6 separate regions of the Homo sapiens genome follow, and regions 2, 3, 4, 5 and 6 are each linked to region 1. Evidence: promoter capture Hi-C in 16 types of primary human blood cells and fetal thymus (Javierre and others, 2016). All regions are on one chromosome and are shown on one strand. The core of a region is centred on a gene start or on the middle of the fragment in contact, and the rest is flanking DNA. Distances in the headings are between cores, read along the strand shown.

What was found. Contacts are between HindIII fragments. The CHiCAGO score rates a contact against its expected background, and 5 or more counts as called.
Region 2: a fragment that was not itself captured here is called in contact with the fragment with the promoter of ST6GALNAC5 in region 1 in 1 of 17 cell types (fetal thymus); the score reaches 5.5 in fetal thymus.
Region 3: a fragment that was not itself captured here is called in contact with the fragment with the promoter of ST6GALNAC5 in region 1 in 1 of 17 cell types (megakaryocytes); the score reaches 5.0 in megakaryocytes.
Region 4: a fragment that was not itself captured here is called in contact with the fragment with the promoter of ST6GALNAC5 in region 1 in 2 of 17 cell types (activated CD4 T cells and naive CD4 T cells); the score reaches 5.6 in activated CD4 T cells.
Region 5: a contact is called between a fragment that was not itself captured here and the fragment with the promoter of ST6GALNAC5 in region 1, in 1 of 17 cell types (erythroblasts). The highest score is 6.1, in erythroblasts.
Region 6: a fragment that was not itself captured here is called in contact with the fragment with the promoter of ST6GALNAC5 in region 1 in 1 of 17 cell types (megakaryocytes); the score reaches 5.6 in megakaryocytes.

What each region holds. Positions count from the first base shown.
Region 1 is chr1:76,866,178-76,869,146 of GRCh38, reverse strand. ST6GALNAC5 (ST6 N-acetylgalactosaminide alpha-2,6-sialyltransferase 5) reads right to left here and starts at 1,667. Exons shown (of 5, transcript NM_030965.3): 1 at 1,457-1,667; 2 at 405-650. The coding sequence starts at 1,471. RefSeq lists an enhancer at 583-792. The HindIII fragment of the contact is 4,193 bases long and covers 1-2,969 here.
Region 2 is chr1:76,089,961-76,092,969 of GRCh38, reverse strand. All of the region lies in intron 1 of ST6GALNAC3 (ST6 N-acetylgalactosaminide alpha-2,6-sialyltransferase 3), which reads right to left. Among named protein-coding and RNA genes, the nearest start is that of ST6GALNAC3, 17 kb to the right of the region's middle. The HindIII fragment of the contact is 1,155 bases long and covers 1,050-2,204 here.
Region 3 is chr1:76,303,607-76,306,656 of GRCh38, reverse strand. All of the region lies in intron 1 of ST6GALNAC3 (ST6 N-acetylgalactosaminide alpha-2,6-sialyltransferase 3), which reads right to left. Among named protein-coding and RNA genes, the nearest start is that of ST6GALNAC3, 230 kb to the right of the region's middle. RefSeq lists an enhancer at 2,874-3,050. The HindIII fragment of the contact is 4,943 bases long and covers 1-3,050 here.
Region 4 is chr1:76,144,323-76,147,525 of GRCh38, reverse strand. All of the region lies in intron 1 of ST6GALNAC3 (ST6 N-acetylgalactosaminide alpha-2,6-sialyltransferase 3), which reads right to left. Among named protein-coding and RNA genes, the nearest start is that of ST6GALNAC3, 71 kb to the right of the region's middle. The HindIII fragment of the contact is 5,591 bases long and covers 1-3,203 here.
Region 5 is chr1:76,165,126-76,168,281 of GRCh38, reverse strand. The region is part of intron 1 of ST6GALNAC3 (ST6 N-acetylgalactosaminide alpha-2,6-sialyltransferase 3); the gene reads right to left. Among named protein-coding and RNA genes, the nearest start is that of ST6GALNAC3, 92 kb to the right of the region's middle. The HindIII fragment of the contact is 5,345 bases long and covers 1-3,156 here.
Region 6 is chr1:76,350,772-76,354,125 of GRCh38, reverse strand. All of the region lies in intron 2 of ST6GALNAC3 (ST6 N-acetylgalactosaminide alpha-2,6-sialyltransferase 3), which reads right to left. It also overlaps the pseudogene LOC100418965. Among named protein-coding and RNA genes, the nearest start is that of ST6GALNAC3, 280 kb to the right of the region's middle. The HindIII fragment of the contact is 4,072 bases long and covers 1-3,294 here.

The DNA of each region.
Region 1 (2,969 bases), core at 418-2,917:
TTCCGGGTCAGAGGAACGCTCAGGCTGGTACCCGCGCCAACCCCAGTTTCCTCCCACCAGGCAGCGACTCGGCGGCCAAACCCGAGGCTTCAGGAACCGGACCTCCATCCGCAGCTGCAATTCTGGGGATCAGGGAGTTCTAGTTCCAGGGCCGATTTCTGCTGGGAAATTAGGCTTTGGGGTCCACGCACCTCACCCCTATTTTCTACAAAACTTTGTGTCTTTCTCCAAATAAGAATTCATACCAAGTTGGAACTAGCCCACCCTACCCCAGCGGGTCCACTCCCCTCCAGCCTTCGAACGGCACCTACTCACAGCGCCTCCCAGCCCCGGGAAAGGGGGAAGGCTCAGGTGTGCGGGATCCCCAGGCTGAGTGGCGAGCGGGCTGGCGGGCATGCTGTCACCTTGTGGTCCGCCACTCCGAGGTATCCGTCCAGTGGCCGCGGTCCCGCGGGGACCCCGGGGCGCTGCTGGGTGCTGCTCTCCGCCGCCGGCTGCGAGCTGCCGGTGGCCGACGCCTGCTGCTGCTGTTGCTGCTGCTGCTGCTGCTGCTGCGGGGGCCGCTCCTTCTGGCCGCCGAGGCTGCTGTACACTAGCAACAAGCTGGTGCACATGGTGGTGAGCGCTAAACACACTGCCAGACCATGGCGCTGCGGGCGGGCGGGAGAGAGAAGAGGAGAGCGGCTGAGCGCAGACACCGGAGGAGCGCGCCCAGCGGGGACAACTGTGCGGTGGTCACTCTAGTGGGGGAGATTTGGGGCGGCCTGGGCCCCAGCCCCGCCGCACGCAACTGGGACAGAGAAAGCACCGTCCCCTAGCGTATCGCAAGGGATGCTCCGGGCGCGTCGCTGCTTTCGGCCGCCGCCGCCCAGATCTCTCGGTAGAGGGCAGGTGGTGTACGGCCCCGGGCTGAGGGAGGGAGCGCGCCGGGGCCGAGGACAGGGGTGGGTTTGCACTTTGGGGAAGGGCCCGTCTGGCGCAGCCACCCCAGCCAAGCTGCTGGAATTTTGAGTCCTTCACACCCCTCCTTTCCTGGGGCCCTGGATCCTTGCGATCCTTGCAAGTTTGAAATCTAAGAAAACGAAGAAAGTCTGCAAAGGTCCCCCCTCCCCGTCCCTCTTAGTTTTTGGCAGGCTGTTGCTTTTGGGCACCCCCATCCCTTGAGCAATCTGCCCACTCCTCCATCGCTCCTGCAGCTCTCCGCCACCCCCTCGGACCTCTCGCCGGAGATCTAGGAGGCGAGGCAACCCCGAGTTCCCATCCTGGCTCTGGGATTCCGAGCCAGGCAGAGCTGGAGAATCGGGAGGGAACGCGGAGCGGGTAGAAAGTTGTCCCTTTGTAACAGGCGACCTCGCGGCCCAGGGTTAGGCGTCTCGGAGTCTCCACGGTGCGTCCCGTGGACCCTGAGCCCGGGGATCCCCCTCTTTGCCCGGTGGAGTTGCCACAACTGACTCACCATCAGGGTCTTCATTTTGGGCACCTCTTTTGTGCAGAATCCTCAGGCTCGCGCGTCCGGGGCCACTTTTTCCTGGAGGGTTTCCATGATGGGTAATGGGGCGGAGGCGGCTCTGATTTTTGCCCAGCAGCCGGCCGCGGCAGATCGCGCGCGGGAGCCGCGGGACCCGGGAAGCGCGGCTGTTGCAGAGATTAGAGACAGAATTAAAACTGAACCGGACCCTCGTAGTCTCTCAGCGATCTACACAACTGCCGCCTGCCGCCGCCTGCTGGGTCCTAAAGACCTCTACATCCCCTTCCCCGCCCCCAAATAATAATCTTTTCAGTAGTGAAATTTCTGGGGAGAGAGAGTTAACCGAGCCAGTGTACCCACTTCTTGGTCCGCGGGCTTATTTATCTTTAAAGAAGTCATCAAGTAGTAAAGAAGGAGAACCTGATTGGATTCTGAACGTGATAGCCATGTGAAAATCTGCAACCTAAATTTTCTGTTTTGCGATGTTGATAAAAACAAATCAACCTCCCAAATGTCAATAACTCTATTTATAGCGTTTGCGTTTATGTACGTAGCATAGAGAAATACATGATGAAATTATTTTTCTTAAAAAATTATTTATTATTCCGTTTTTCAATTGCTCACTTTCTTATTTTCTCTTCTCTCTTAATTTTAATTTTACTTTATCAGATTCAGTTATTCTCATGCATTCTTTAGATAATATTTCATCTCAATTATTTCATTTATTATTTTCATTGAATATTACAATTTACATTTCTGCCTGACCTCTGAGTTTCCTAGTGTTCATCTAAATGATCTTAAAGTTTTAAAAACATTCAGCACGTCACAGCTACATGATTAACTTGACCTGTAGATTCTTCCTAATTTGGATGAAGAATTTCTGTCTGCTAGAGATAAAACTGCATATGGCTTATTTCATAATCCTAAGGTATTTGGTGCTTTCCGTTGGTCTACTGCACTGACGGCGATAGTTTCACATTCAGGACTTCAATTAAAATTAAAAAAACATAAGTATTGTTTTATGTTGGGAAAGTCACATCAATAGCTTGTTTTAAGGATGCTGTCTCCTCTGCATTGAATTACAAATGGCATTTGTTAAATGTCTAATTTAGCTAAAAACATATTTCTTGTGAAATTGCTCAGTGAAAATAGTTGTCTTAATGTATTACTTAACATCTCACCTGTAGCAGTGTAATGTTAAAGATTACATTAAGATGGAAATGATCAGCAGGCCTACTGAACCATGGGCACAATAAGAGCTTTCTCAAGGCCAAAGAAGGCATTACAATCCATTTTTAATCTTCCCTAATCTATTGCTGGACTGATGATACAACAGGAACTATTTTTATCTTATGAGGCATCCTTCCATACTTAGTATTAAGAAAGTTAAAATTATTGGTGCAATAATGAATATCAGTGCAACGTGTTTGGGAGAGGGCAAGAAAGCACACGATTTAGCCTTTCAAGGAAAAGCAAAATAGGAAGCACTGTCCAACATTGC
Region 2 (3,009 bases), core at 378-2,877, 780 kb after region 1:
AGACACGTCCAGAGAAAAACAAGATGGAGGACAGTGCTTAAGAACATGGGAATATGGGAAGCAGGAGGACACAATGGAAGAGCACACCCTGGAGGCCAGGCAATCACTCTGGAGGCCAGGCAGTCACGCTGGACGCCAGGCAGTCTGGGTTTGAACCTCAACTCTGCTGCTCACCATGGAATGGCCTTGGACAATTTGGCTAGGCAGGACCAACCACATAATTTATGAGGCCCCATGCAAAATAAAAATGCAGGGCCCTTGTTCAAAATTATGAAGTCTTCTACGACAATAATTGCAGAATATTACACCAAGCATGGGGCCCTTCTAAGCATGGGGTCCTGTGTGATCATGCAGGTCACATGCCACGAAGCCATCCCTGCATCTAGCCACTGTCACCTCAGTTTACTTCTCTGTCAAATGGACACAATAATAGCACCCATTTTGAAGGGTTGCTGTGATGATTAGATTAGAAACTCCCATAAAAATTGCTTCTAAAAGCACCTGGTGCTTATCAAAAAATGTCATCTTTTGCCATTATTATTTTTTGAAAGTCAAGTTATGAAACAGAATAGCTACTAAGGCATTCATAGTCAATTATAAGATACTTCTTTACCAAGGGATTAGCCACAAAGTCCTTCAAACAGCAAACTTCCTTATTTAAATCTCAAAGAGTTTACAAAAGACTGATGCCTGTACTACTTTCTAAAAATACGTATTAGGCAAAACAAAGTATCTCTCTAATCAGAGAAATAAACCCAAAAAGATGGGCTTTCAGACAAGATGATCCAAGAGACATTTTTATTTAAGGTCTATAGGAAAGAAGATCTCTTCCTGTGTTTCCACTTGTACCATTCTGGCCTGTCTATAGGATGGTCTTATGACTTGGACAGAGCTGGGGTTAAGAGCACGGAGGTTGACATCAGTCAAAACTGAAGGATCTCCTAACTCTCTGACTTTAAGCAATTAAATTCTCTAAGCCCGCATTTCCTCATAAACAATCCAAACTCACAGCAGGATGAAAAAACAGATTCACAGTGTTGTTATAAGCTTTAACTGACATATACATACAGTCATGAATGGCTCAATGATAGGGATATGTTCTGAGAACCACATCCGTAAGTGTAGTTGTGTGAGCATCATAGAGTGCACTTACATACACCTAGATGGTGTAGCCTACTACATACCTAGGCTACATGGTATAGCCAATTGCTCTTAGGCTACAAACCCATACAGCACATTACTGTGCTATATACTATAGGTATAATAACTGTAACACAATGGTAAGTATCTGTGTATCTAAACATATCTAAACACAGAAAAGATACAGTAAAAATGTGATATTATCATCTTATGGGACCACTGTCATATAGGCAGTCTGCCATTGACTGGACTGAAACGTCGTCATGTGGCACATGACTATATGTGGTGCTTAGCTCAAGGTTTGGAGCATAGGATGACTCCATCAATAGCTGCCTTGAGGGCAAAAATATGGAGCCACATTCTAAGTCAGGGAAACAAACAGTAGGCATTAATGCACAATGGGGCAGAAGTCCCTTACTCCTCCCAATTTACATCTTCAGATAACAAGCATTTACTGTTCATCCGCATGAGAAAGAGTCTTAACTCAATGATCTAAGGGCTCAAAAGGTTACATTTAAATTTAGGACTGCTCTGACTAAATGAAAATTTCAACACCTACATTAATAGCTTTATTTGCCAAGAATATTTTACTTTTATTAGCACTTTCAAACAGACTGATATTCTTGCTTATCTTCATTTTACACGTGACACATTCTCACTGAAGCATGGTCACAACAGAATATGGTCTGGGGCCAGTGCAAGATCCTAGCCCAGCTTCTTGATTTCAGAGAACATGTGCCTTAAATATGACACACAAGGAGAGAGATGTCATTGCCATGTTTTAACTTACAGTTTTCTGATAAACATTCGGCCTGCGCAATTGCAAGGCTGTCATAATTGGAACAAGTCATTTCCAAGTACAAAGGGCAATGACCAGTGGCAATGCAGGGACTCTGAGCACTCTAAAAAGACAATAGAAGAATATTCTACTCCTCAGCTCAGTGGCTCCATTACGTTTAGTTTTGTGCTAAAAATGTCTCAAAAGTGTTCCATTACCTACAAGGTCAAGTCCAAACCCTTAGTCTACCTAATGTCCCACCAGCCCCCAAAGTCCAGACTAAGCTTTAGCCATAAAGTACTTCCCATCATTTTCCACAAATGTCATGTTTCAGATTCAGGGCCTGAAAAGACCCTAGAGTAGCTAGAAAATAATAAGAGGCTGAGTGCCTTGGAGGAGACTGGAAAGGGATCCTGTAGGCCTGTGGAGTCATGATTCAAAGATCGTAATATATTCCAAATGAAAAAGGAAGCCACTGACCAGATAAGAAAGGGAATGAGATCATCTTACGTGCATCTTTTAAAATTCCTTCTGGTTGCTGTGCCAAGAACAGATAAAAGAGTGACAAATGAAGAAGAGGAACTTGTGGCAGGGAGAGCAGTAGGTGGGTAGACCAGGAGGCACAGCCATCCGGCCAGTTAGTCTGAAGTTAATGCTCATGCTTATTCATCAAGATTCTGTTCAAGTATCTGCTTATCAGTGAGACTAATTCCACCAGGTCTGACCTGAACTAAGCAAGTGAAATAAATTGTCTTCTTAAGTATAATCTAGTTTAAAAGTTCTTAACATCAAAGAAAAGTTCTAAGAACTCCTTAACTTTTAAAAGATAATCAGTTTAATTCAGATCAAAATTATTTCCATAGGCTCCTTCCTAAATGATTCTCTCCTCTACAGAGGTAGAAGACCAGATGGTTAAAAGCAAGGTATTTTGGGTCAGACAGATCTGAATTTTATTCCCTGGCCCCACTAGCACTTACAATGGAGAAACCGTGGCTCAGATAAGTTATTCTTAACTTCTAGGTGTATATAAATACACTCTCAGTGCACACCCAGGTGTATGTAAGTGCACTCTAACTTACTCTTACCTTCTC
Region 3 (3,050 bases), core at 515-3,014, 560 kb after region 1:
AAAAGTTCCTCAGAAAATGTTGCTACCTATAATTTTTCTCTAGGACTGGCTTTTTGCACAGAAGAATTTATTACAGTGGTACCCATGAAAACTCTATTGCCTTGATTTTTGTTTGTTGGATTTGTAATTCTTACTGGACTATAACCATGTCTGAAGGTGACATACTGACATGTGCTCTAAATTCTTAAAGTAGATTACCATGTTGAAGGCGTCCTATTACTTTTAAACTTTTTTTTAACTACCAACATTTTGTTGTTTAGTTGTGTTTTTGTTGAACAAAAGGGTCATTGGATTGTGGAGCTGAAAGAGGAAGACATACCCATTCCATCAGGTTGGTTCCTACAAACTGCCTACAATAAGAGTCTATACAATTGACTGTCAAAGGGTACCTAGTGTTCTCTAGCAGAAGTGGAAGAATAATTGCTTTATTTTCCCTGAGTGCTAACCAAGTGCACCCTGTAGTTGTCTTTTTAATACCGGGAATAAAGCCAGAGTTGGGCAAAATGAATTAAATTTATCCACAAATTGCTGATTTCAAAGTAAATGTAATTATCATGCTTCACACCAGCCTCTTAATTTTCCATATGAATTAGGTATTTTGGTTACTGACAAACTGCATTACAAAATCTACCTAAGGCTGGTACCAGTTTTTAAAATTTCTGAACCAGTTATATGAGAATGTTCCCATTAGTATGAATAACAATTAACAACTTAGTTAATTCACACACTAGAACACAGGCTCTAGAGGCAGAATATCAGAGTTCAAGTCATCTTTACCATTTTCTCCATCTATGACTTTGGGCAGTCACTTCATCTCACTATGCCTCTATTTCTTTGTCTGGAAAACTGAGATTATATAAATAATTCTCTAACTGATAACACTCATTAAACTTCATCCTCTGTTAAGACTATGATGATTATTCATGCACGTACACTCTATCTGGACTATATTCTCCTAGTAAGAGAAAAAAGGCCGATCTGAAAGTAATAATTGCTGGGTTTTGTACTGATAATTTAATATCTGCTGGTGATACCTGATGAAGTAGTCCATGTTTGCTCTTGATATTGTCTTTCCCGAAAGAGTCTTTACCACTTCCCAAACATTGGCCACACCACCTCCAGACTGAGCTTTCCAAAATCAAACCTGATCCTGTCTATCCTACATTTAGATCCCTCTGGACTCTACAGTGTAAGTGCAGACCCTTGGTATGATATACAAGACCTTCCATAATCACATCTCCTCTTGCCTCTCTAGTTCCACTCCTTCTGCCCTATTCAAAGCCTACACTCAATATATTTCTTTTACTATATCACATCTTCTTCATTAGGCTCCCGGATTCTGTCATGCTGTTCATTATCCCAAAGTGATCTTCTTTGAAATTCACATTACTACTCTTTTCTTGATGGTACCAATGATTCTAGCACCCACTATGCTGCCTAAGGCTGCCCTTCTTAAGATTAGATATGGACCTGACCCATCAGGACTTTCCATCATTTTATTACCCTGAAGTTACTTGTTTTTCCATCAAATCCTACTACTTATGGGAAGAAATGTTCTCCAATCCACCTGTTGCCCTCACTCAGATCCCACCCCTGTGCGCCGGGCATTCTGTTGAGGAAAGGGAGGTGCTAACTAACCAGGAACAATGAAGGTAATCGGAACAGGTGCTTTTGTTTAATTCTCAGCTACCTTATAGGCTTCATTGGTTGTATGTGGCTTCTGCGAACCTCTGCTTGTCATCTTTTCACTCTAAACGAGATGAGTTTGTCTCTTAGAATCCATTCGTACCTCCAAGGTGTTCAGGACACAGAAGCAGAGCATAAGTGTAAATTCTGGTGGTCCTGGTGTCATTAGGGAGGAAGTCCTGCCAGAGGCATCCCGACAATGATGAAAATGACTACGATGATAATGACATCAGCTGGAATCTCTTATTTTTCTGTGAATCTACATGACCTTACATTAAATGGCATTTATCCTCACACCTCACATGCATCTCTCTGTAACAAGTGAAGTGAGAAGGGAAGTCTCCTCTCCCATCTCTCCCTTTCCTGTCCTCCATGTTTCAAGCTGGACTTCTCAGCCTTCTCTAAAGCCCCTTTGCTATCCAGTTACTGTGACCTTGTTCATGCTGCTCCTCCTGGCCCCCTTGCTGTATTCTACCATCCTCATCTCTGCAAGTTCCAATATAACTTGCTCAGAGTGTTTCCCCCATAAAGCATTTGTTCCTCCTTGGCTTCTAGTTCATGGATAAGGGTGGGGTGGGATGGGGTGGATGGAGAAAGAAGATGGAGGAAAGAGGGAAGAGGGAGAGTGGAGGGAGAAAGGAAGGGAGGGAAGGAGAGAAAGATTCCCCCTTAATTTTGTCTTTGAAAATTTCTTCAGGACATGAACAAAATCTGAGAAATATATCTCATAAGGCAGTATCAAGCACAATGTCTTTAACAGAAAATATTCAGTAAATATTTGTGGAAGAAATGAAAGAATGAAGGAGAGAAAGAAGGAAGGACAGAGGGATTAAATGATTTTTTCTAAATATAAGTCCTAAATTATTTCAAAAATTTCAGATTCAGATTATTATAAAAATATGTTTTTTCATAAAAGAAAAAAGGCAATTTTCTTTTTTTTTCTTAATTCATCTCACTTTAAGATTTCTGTGTAGATTTGAGGTGAATGTGGTGGGGAATGGGAAAGTGAGGGAGAGGGTTAGGGTGTGAAATATAAAGAGAAGTGAGAAAAATTTAAAATATAAAGAGAAGTGAGAAAAATTTAAACATTTGTTAAACTGGACTTTTTACTAGGAAATTTACTAGGAAATTGCTTTGAAGTTCCTGATAGAACTTGTAAATCTGAATGGTGATAAACTAGTAAACCTGCTTGGAGCAACATTTTTTATATGGCACATAATGAAAAGGCTTACAAGAATCCATATTTTTTAGATAATCAACTCTTGTCTGAGATTGACAACACTTAAAGCTAGAATCCTATATCATGGAATGAGAAATAGATAACAAAAGAGTATCCTATTCTTCTGATAAGGACAATAGCTTAT
Region 4 (3,203 bases), core at 1-2,500, 720 kb after region 1:
AAGAATGTTAAATGCTGGGGAAGGGGGAAGATTGATTGCAAGTTGGTTGGTCCAAGAACACACATGGTCTTGCATCTCAGGTTAAGATATCTGTGCTTGATTTCATAGACAATCAAAGAGGCAAAATACTTTTAAAAGCCTTAGCAGTAAAAGTGAGTGATCAGGCCAGGAACAGCAGCTCACGCCTGTAATCCCAGCACTTTGGGAGGCTGAGGCAGTTGGATCACCTGAGGTCAGGAGTTCGAGACCAGCCTGGCCAACATGGGGAAACCCTGTCTCTACTAAAAATACAAAAATTAGCTGGGCATGGTGGCAGGTGCCTGTAATCTCAGCTACTTGGGAGGCTGAGGCAGGAGAATCACTTGAACCCAGGAGGCAGAGGTCGTAGTGGGCCAAGATGGCACCATTGTACTCCAGCCTGGGAGACAGAGTGAGACTAGTCTCAAAAAAAAAAAAAAAAAGAAGTGGGGGGAGTGATCAGTAGAAGTTAGCTAATGTTGGTAGTGTTTAATTTAGGATGTATTTGAGGATGTGACACGTGGAGCAGTACACGGAGTCATTAGACATAGCATGAGATGGAGAGAAGCATGTAGGAGAGATGTCAAGGAGGAGGTCGGAAAGTACATTTCATCAAACACTGGTCTTCCTAGATACTTTCAAAGAAGGTTCTACAGGGAAATAAATTCAGAAATGAGAAAACCACCCAACCCCTCCTGGCAGCATATTAAAAGTTCTAATTTGTCCTGAGGCTAAACCAACAAACAAAATGATATTTAACTGTCTAAATTAATATTTTATACTTTGTCCTGATCAATTTTTTTTAGCGGTGAGGGGGGTGGAACCCCTATTAAAACCTGGCAGGACTAACTTTATGAAATGCTGAACAAGAGGGAAAAAGAAAAAATCCTACAAATTGGGAAAAGACGATGGATTTGGGAGAGAGAAAAGAAACTGAATGACAGGCTCTGGAAAGCACTTGACTGGAAGTGTGGACAGGAGTGTGAGGGAGAAAAGAAGGAGGAGGGGAGGAGCCGTCAAAGTCAGAGAGGACAGGAGCATGCCAAGATGCCACTAACAGAATCTTCAAGAACATCTCAATCAAAAGTTGAGCCACTTTCAGGGAAAGTGCAGTGAATGCTAACACTCCTTCTGAATGCCTCTCATCTGACATCAATGAAAACAAGGAATTAAAAAAGGGATAATCTTCCTTTTATGAAGGGAGAGAAGTTAAGGCTTTAGACAGACACCATCCTGGATCACCCCTGCAATCAATCCTGAAGGGATAGAGAAGGACAGTGAATTTTGAAGAAGCAAGAAAAGGAGAAAGTGTTGTTTAGAATTAAGCCTTGTTTAATCAGTCTGGGAACGTAAAGAACAGCTTAAATCATTAATCTTGAAAAGCACGTCTTGTCCACTCATGCAGACATATATAATTCAGGCACCTTTTTTCCTTGGCTGCTTAGCAGATTGTCTGTATTTATTAAATTGCCTTTACTACTTTTAGATGGCCATACGTTTTCAAAAGCAAAGACCTAGTAAGCCATTTGTGTTCATTTGCTAAGCTATCTTAGGTACAGGTCCAGATTATAAATGTTACCTGCTAATCAGAGAGCAAATTTTTAAATTAATCACTTGTAAATCCACATTAAAAGAAAAAGAAACTTAGAAAAACACATAAATTTCTTTTGTGATCCCACTATTCAGGAAAATCCATTGAAAAAGCAGATGACTTATCCGTGTTAAATTTTTAAAGCCCCTATTAAACTGTCATGTAAATTCTTATTTATCTAATTTTTAAACACATATAGAATTTACTCTCCAGTTCATAAATGCCTCAATTCTGTGATGTCATTACAACAGCATTAACGCAGACATATCGACTTAAACAGCCATGCAGTCCTGAATCAGAAGTGAGTTTTAAGTCACTAATTATTTCCGTAATTGAAAAAGAACAACACATCTGAATAGTATTTTGGCCCAGAGGTATTCAACAGGCTGGTGCTTCTCAAAGAGTAACATGCATGATATACAGGAACCTTGTCAAGATTCAGATTGAGTCAGTGGGTCTAAGGTGGAGTCTGAGACTCCACGTGTCCAACAAGCTCCCTGGTGATGCCCATGCTGCTAGTACACGTCCCACACTTTGAGTTGAAAGGCAATAGATGATCCTTCCAGGATTCAAGGAGGGGCAGCGGGGTTGGATGAAATAGACTGGGTGAAAAGGACTGAGTTGCTTTTTTAGCTTTCCCAGTGTGATTCCTGCTGGACTCTCTGGAAAGCATTGTTGTCCTTTGGTCTAGAAAGACTTGAAAGTTCAAGGTCTAAAGTCATATGTGCAAAATGTGGTGGAATAAATGTTAAGGAGAAACAGGAAACTGTAATAACAGTGTGAGGGTTGGTGACAGGCTCTCTACTCTGAGCAGCTAAAAATTATAAAGAGGAGAATTCTTAGACAAGCCTGGGTTGACGTTCAGGATTCAGATTTGTTTATAAATGTCTGGCTGATTCTTGAGACAAGGCAAGTTCTGAACAAGCTACTTTAAGATAAGCATTATTATTTTCAGTAAAGGAATGAGAAACTCAGAAGATGCCTGAGGCCACTCAACTCATAACAGAGTGAAGACACAAATCCAAGAGGTCTCCTGACTCCAATAAAGGAGGCCCTCACCTCTAAATTACACAGTTTGTCAAGGTGATCCCCAAACCAGTTGGTAACCAATGTTTGAGAAATTCATAGAAGCTATCAGACTTCAGGACACAACTGTCATCTATGTCAACTTTTCAAGAAAAGAAGATACCAGGAACTATAGACTAGTTTGCTTCACAGAATCATTAGGGGAAGCGGGGAGAGTATTGTATTTATTAAAAGAAGTGGTGAGTGCATTAGAAGCTAGCATGGGCTCACTGCCCATCTCCCCTCCCAGGTGAAGCCAAGGCAGGGGGAATCCTTCCGTGTTGTTTTCTTCAGCATTGATTGTAAGCTCTCAAAGCAGTGGCTGTTCCATGATAGGCACTTAAATATTTGTTGAATGACTGAACAAATGAGTGAACAAGAAACAGGCCAACACACTCCAATATTTGTCAAGTTCAACTAGAGGCCAGGCACTATGGATACAAAAACAAATAAGATGTAGTCCCTGAGTAGAAGTGGTTAGGTCTGTTTTCTTAACTGTTAGTTTGGAAAGAAACTTATGGCTTCTTGC
Region 5 (3,156 bases), core at 499-2,998, 700 kb after region 1:
CATGAAAATTGAATAACTTGTTCCTAAATGGCTTTGAGGTAAAAAAATTAATTAAGGCAGAAATCAAGAAGTTCTTTGAAACTAATGAGAGCAAAGATACAATGTAGCATAATCCCTGAGACACAACTAAGGCAGTATTAAGAAGGAAATTTATAGCACTAAATGACTACATCAAAAAATTAGAAAGATCTCAAGTTAACAACCTAACATCACAACTAAAGAACTAGAGAATCTAGAGCAAACAATCCCAAAGCTAGCAGAAGACAAGAAATAACCAAAATCAGAGCTGAGCAGAAGAAAATTGAGACATGAAAAATCATTCAAAAGACCAATGAATCCAGGAGCTGTTTTTTGATAAAAATTAATAAAACAGACATACCACTAGCTAAACTAATAAAGAAGAAAAGAGAGAAGATTCCAATAAACACAATCAGAAATGGCAAGGGGAATATTACCACTGACCCCACAGAAATACAACCAACCATCAGAGAATATTATGATCACCTCTATGCACATAAACTAGAAAATCTAGAAGAAATTGATACATTTCTGGACATATACACCCTCCCAAGACTGAACCAGGAAGAAACTGAATCCCTGAACAGACAATAATGAGCTCCGAAATTGAATCAACAAATAGCCTACCAACCAATAAAAGCCCAGGGCCAGATGGATTCACAGCTGAATTCCACCAGATGTACATAGATGAGCTGGTACCATTCCTTCTGAACCAATTCCCAAAAGTTGAGGTAGAGTGACTCCTCCCTTACTCATTCTATGAGGCCAGCATCATGCTGATACCAAAACCTGGCAGACACACAACAACAACAAAAGGAATCTTCAGGCCAATAGCCTGGATGAATATCAACTACAAAATACTGACAAACCAAATCCAGCAGCACATCAAAAAATTTATCTACCACAATCAAATAGGCTTGTTATCCCTGGGATGCAAGGTTGGTTCAACACATGCAAATCAATTAATGTGAGCCATCATATAAACAGAACTAAAGACAAAAAACATGATTATTTCAATAGATGCAGAAAAGGCTCTCCATAAAATTCAACATCCCTTCATGTTAAAAACTCTCGATAAACTAGGTATTAAATGAATATACCTCAAAATAATAAGAACCATCTATGACAAACCCACAGCCAACACCATAATGAATGGGTAAAAGCTGGAAGCATTTCCCTTGAAAACCAGCACAAGACAAGGATGCCCTCTCTCACCACTCTTATTCAACAGTATTGGGTCCTGGCCAGATCAATCAGGCAAGAGAAAGAAGAAAAGGGCATCAAAATCGGAAGAGAGGAAGTCAAACTATCCCTGTTTGTAGACAAGATGATCCTATATCTATAAAACCCAATAGTCTCAGCCCAAAAGCTCCTTAAGCTGATAAACAACTTCAGCAAAGTCTCAGGTTACAAAATAAATGCACAAAAATCACTAACATTCCTGTACATCAACAACAGTGAAGCCAAGAGCCGAATAGGCAACGCAATCCTACTCACAATTGCCATAAAAATAATAAAATACTTAAGAATACTCAGCCAACCAGGGAGGTGAAAGATCTCTACAAGGAGAACTACAAAACACTGCTCAAAGAAACCAGAGATAACACAAATAAATGGAAAAACATTCCATGCTCATGGATAGGAAGAATCGATATTGTTAAAATGGCCATGCTGCCCAAAGTATTTTATAGATTCAATGCTATTCCTGTTAAACTAGCATTGACATTCTTCACAGAACTAGAGAAAACAATTTTAAAATTCATATGGAAGCAAAAAATGAGCCCAAATAGTCAAGGCAATCTTAAGCAAAATGAACAAAGCTGGACACATCATGCTACTGGACTTCAAACTGTACTACACAGCTACAGTAACCAAACAGCATAGTACTGGTACAAAAAGAGAAAACAGACCAATCAAAAAGACTGGAGAACCCAGAAATAAGGCCATACACCTACAACTATCTGATATTCAACATGACAAAAACAAGCAATGGGGAAAGGATTCCCTATTCAGTAAGTTGTTCTGGGATAATTGGCTAGCCACAAGCAGAATACTTAAACTGGACCCCTTCCTTCCGCCATATACAAAAATTAACTCAAGATGAATTAAGGACTTAAATGTAAAACCCAAAACTAGAAAAACTCCAACTTAGGCAACACCATTCTGGCCATAGAAACAGGGAAAGATTTCATGACGAAGACACCAAAAGCAATTACAAGAAAAGCAAAAGTTTACAAACAGGATCTAATTAAACTAAAGATCTTCTGCACAGCAAAAGAAACTCTCAACAAAGTGAACAGACAACCTACAGAATGGGAGGAAATTTGTGCAAACTATGCATCTGACAAAGGTCTAATATCTAGCATTTATAAGAAATACAAACAAATGTACAAGAAAAAAAACCCATTAGAAAGTGGACAAAGGACATGAACAGACACTTTTCAAAAGAAGATGTACATGCAGCCAATAATCATATGAAAAAAAACTCAGCATCACTGATTATTTGAGAAATGCAAATCAAAACCACAATGAGATGCCATCTCACGCCAGTCAGAATGTCTATTATTAAAAAGTCAAAAATAACAGATGCTGGTGAAGTTGTGGAGAAAAAGGAATGGTTATACACTGTTGGTGGGAGTGTAAATTAGTTCAACCACTGTGGAAGACACTGGTGACTCCTCAAAGACCTAAAAACAGAAATACCATTTGACCTAGTAATCTCATTACTGGGTATATATCCAAATAAATACAAATCATTCTATTATAAAAGACACATGCACATGTATGTTAATTACAGCACTGTTCACACTTGTAAAGACATTGAATCAACCTAAATGCTCATCAATGATAGACTGGATAAAGAAAACATGGTACATATATACCACGGAATACTATGCAACCATTAAAAGGAACAAGATCATATCTTTTACAGGGACATGAATGAAGCTGAAGGCCATTATCCTTAGCAAACTAAGGCAGTAATAGAAAACCAAATACTGCAAGCTCTCACTTACAAATAGGAGCTAAATGATGAGAACACACAGACACACAGAAGGGAACAACATACACTGGGGCCTATCAGAGGAAGGAAGGTGAGAGGAGGGAGAGGATCAGGAACAATAACTAACAGGTACTAGG
Region 6 (3,354 bases), core at 9-2,508, 510 kb after region 1:
GACTACTAGAAAGAGAAGGAGAGTGGATGCTTGGGGACCCACGATTTCAGCAGTAACTTTGCAGCCATGGCACCTGTCATGGTGGGAGATGCTATCCTGGCATTAGTGGTGTTTGAAAGGGAGCCTGGGAACAAGGTGGACCTGACAGAACTATGCCAGGGAAAGAAGGGTGTGCTGTTTAGAATCCCTGGGGCTTTCACCCCAACTGTCAAAGACCCACCTGCTTGGGTTTGGGGAGTAGGCTGGGGTTCTGAAGGTAAAGGGGGGCCAGATCCATGTTTAAGTGCCACTGTCTTTGTGTCTTTGTGACTGGTGAGTGGGGACAGGCCACAGTGCAGAAGGCCAAGGCCAGCTCATGGGTGGCAGCCCTGGGGCCTCTGGGAAGGAGACTGATTTGTTACTAGATGATTTGCTGTTGCCACTCTTTGAGGATGAGAGCTTGAGAGGTTCTTCCTGGTGATAGAGGATGGTGTGGTGAAGGCCTTGCATGAACCTGACCATACAGGCCTCACCTGCAGCCTGGTCCCCAGTTCTATCTCACAGCTCTGAGGCCCAGATCCCTTCACTGTTTCCTGTCTCAGGTGCCCAGCCCTGGGCAAGGGGCCCCAGTCTAACCTCAGCTGGAGTCACTCAATTGGAACCTTGGCCAAATTTCTGCAATAAACACTCCAGTTCAAAACAAACGAACAATGATTTGACAAAAAAAAAAGTTGGGCAGGGCAACTCAATAATCATTGGTAGAAAGGAGCTGACATTAGTTATGGTGCCAGGTTGGAAGCCTCTCTGAAGGGGTGGCAACTGAGCTGAGACTGCTCAGACAAGAATGGCCAGCCACAGAAACGCGTGGGCCCGAAGAACGTACAGGGAGAGGAAACAGCAAGCAAGCCCATGACAGAAACTGGTTAGGCATGTTAAGGGAATAGAAGGCCAGGGTGGCTGGAGAGGAGATGGGAGCATGGTTCTTTATTGGCCATGATACAGAGTTCAGTGTTTATTCTGACTGCAGTGAAAGCCCAATAAAGAATTTAAGAAGGGGAGTGGAGTAATTCTAGTTGTATATTTAAGAGATCTCTTTGGAGAATGGATGATGAGGGTGAGGGCTGGAAGATGAGAGTGGAAGCAGGAGACCAGTGGAGAATGTAGGTGACAGCAGATGGTGTCTTGGATTAGAGTAACAAGGAAAATCAAGAGAAGTGGACAGGTTTGGTGATATAACCAGCTGGCATGATGGCAGATGGAATGTGGAGGAAGGCAGACAGAGAAATGTCTAGAATGCATCTTAGGTTTTTGACTTAAGAAACTGAGTGAATGGCAATACCATTTATAGGAACGAGGAGGAATGTAGAACAGATGTGAAGAAAAAAATTCAGTTTTGAGCCTGTACCTAATTCTGATAATTATTATACATCCACATGGAAATATCAAGCAGGTAATGGAATATACAAGTCAGAGGCTCATGGTACGAGTCAGGGCTGGAGGTATAAAGTTATACAGAAGGAGTTAAAGCAATGTAATTAGATTAGGTCATTCAGGAATAAAATGCAGATAGAGAAGAAAAAGAGCTCAAGCTCTTTAGCACTCCAGCAATTAGAGATTGGCCGGAGGTAAAAAAAAAAAAAAAAAAAAAAGGAAACCAAAAAGTTTGAAAATAACCAGTGAGACAGAGGGAAAGCAGGAGGGACAGGCACAGTTCTGAATGCCTTACTATCTTATTTCATTTAATCCTATGAGCCCAATAATATTCTCAATAAAAAAAAAAAAGGAGGAAATAGTCAAGTTGGACAGACGGTATTGAAAAGCAGAGTCAGCCAAAAACACAGAACAATGTGTTGACAATGTTGACCACTGATGATGTCAACAAGGGTATTTCAGTGTTGAAACAATAACTTATTGTTTAAACAGAAACTATATTTACTTACAAATTAGAAAACACCAAATGACTATTAAGGAGAAAAATAAAATGAACTAATCAATGGTGGTATTCAAACAGCATTATAACATTTTTCTCAACCTTTTCTTTTTTCATTATTGTCCCTCTAAGGAGCCTGGTTAAGACAATTTTATCCTACTTATACCCCCTCCCACATGAAATTTGATACTGCAGTTAAACTCGTTATCTACTTAGGTACTATGGCCCTTCGGATGGCCACAAACATTTATAATATCAAAAGCCTTTTGACCTTCCCCCACCCCAACCTCCTCAACATGAATTTTCACATCCCAGGGGATGAGACAATATCTGTAATTATAATTATGCATTGTAATTATAGCCTGCTATTGTATTGAGAGGAAAATGTATGTTTCACTTATCATTAGAGTGGCCACATAATTTATTACCCAACTGATGTATTTTGGGGAGGAAAGAGAGTACTACTAATAATTACGTTGGGATAGAAGGCATATACCAGAATATGCCAGGCAACTGGGATATATGATTATCCTACTTCTCATAAACTCTGAAAAAATTTTAATTATAAGAATAAATTTGGCAATATTTTAATTCTAAAGTGGACAAATAAATTCAACAGCTAGGCTGTCAGAAAAACGAACAAAATGGGCAAACATGGAGACTCTAACAAAGACAAAAAAAGAAAGCACAAAACAAGTTAGAAGTTATAAAAAAAAGTTATAGTAGTTTTAAAGTATATCACAGATCTCCATATAGTCTTTATACTAAAAAAATTGAAAATTTAGATAAAAAGAGAATTTTCTGGGAATGTGCAAGTGTTTAAAACTGACTCAGGAAGGAGTTTAAAACAATATAGATAATTATGAAAATGTTTGAAAATGTTATAAATGAAATATTTCCAAAAGGATATTTAGGCCCACACATTTCTTTGAAAAACGTTCTTTGAAATCTTCAAAAAATGACTATGCTACATAATTTGTTCCCAGGCTGAACAAAAAGATAGAAAGTTATTCATTTTATAAAACCAGCATAAGCCTAATGCCAAACTTGACAAAGCTAATACACAAAAAAGAAAAATGTAGCCGAATCTTTGTATGAATGGAGACACGCACACTCAAAAGAAATTCTAGTAAATTAATCTCTCAGTGAAAGCTGATTAGTATGTAAGATCTGGGACAAAATCTGGCTTACTTCTTAACACTAAGTTACACTCTGAACTTTTGTACTTAGTTAAACACTTTTCTTAGTCACATAAGCAAGGAGTTAGAGAAGAATGTGATGCTGCAAATCCTAGAATTATAAAAGTAAAAAATGTGTCAGAAAATTGAGATGTGGTGTTGAAAATAATATGATCATATATCAGAATTATAATGCTTAGGAAAGCTTCAGGAACCTAGTATTTGTTTCACCACTGTCAGCCCATATATTAGTGTAAGTACTAAAAG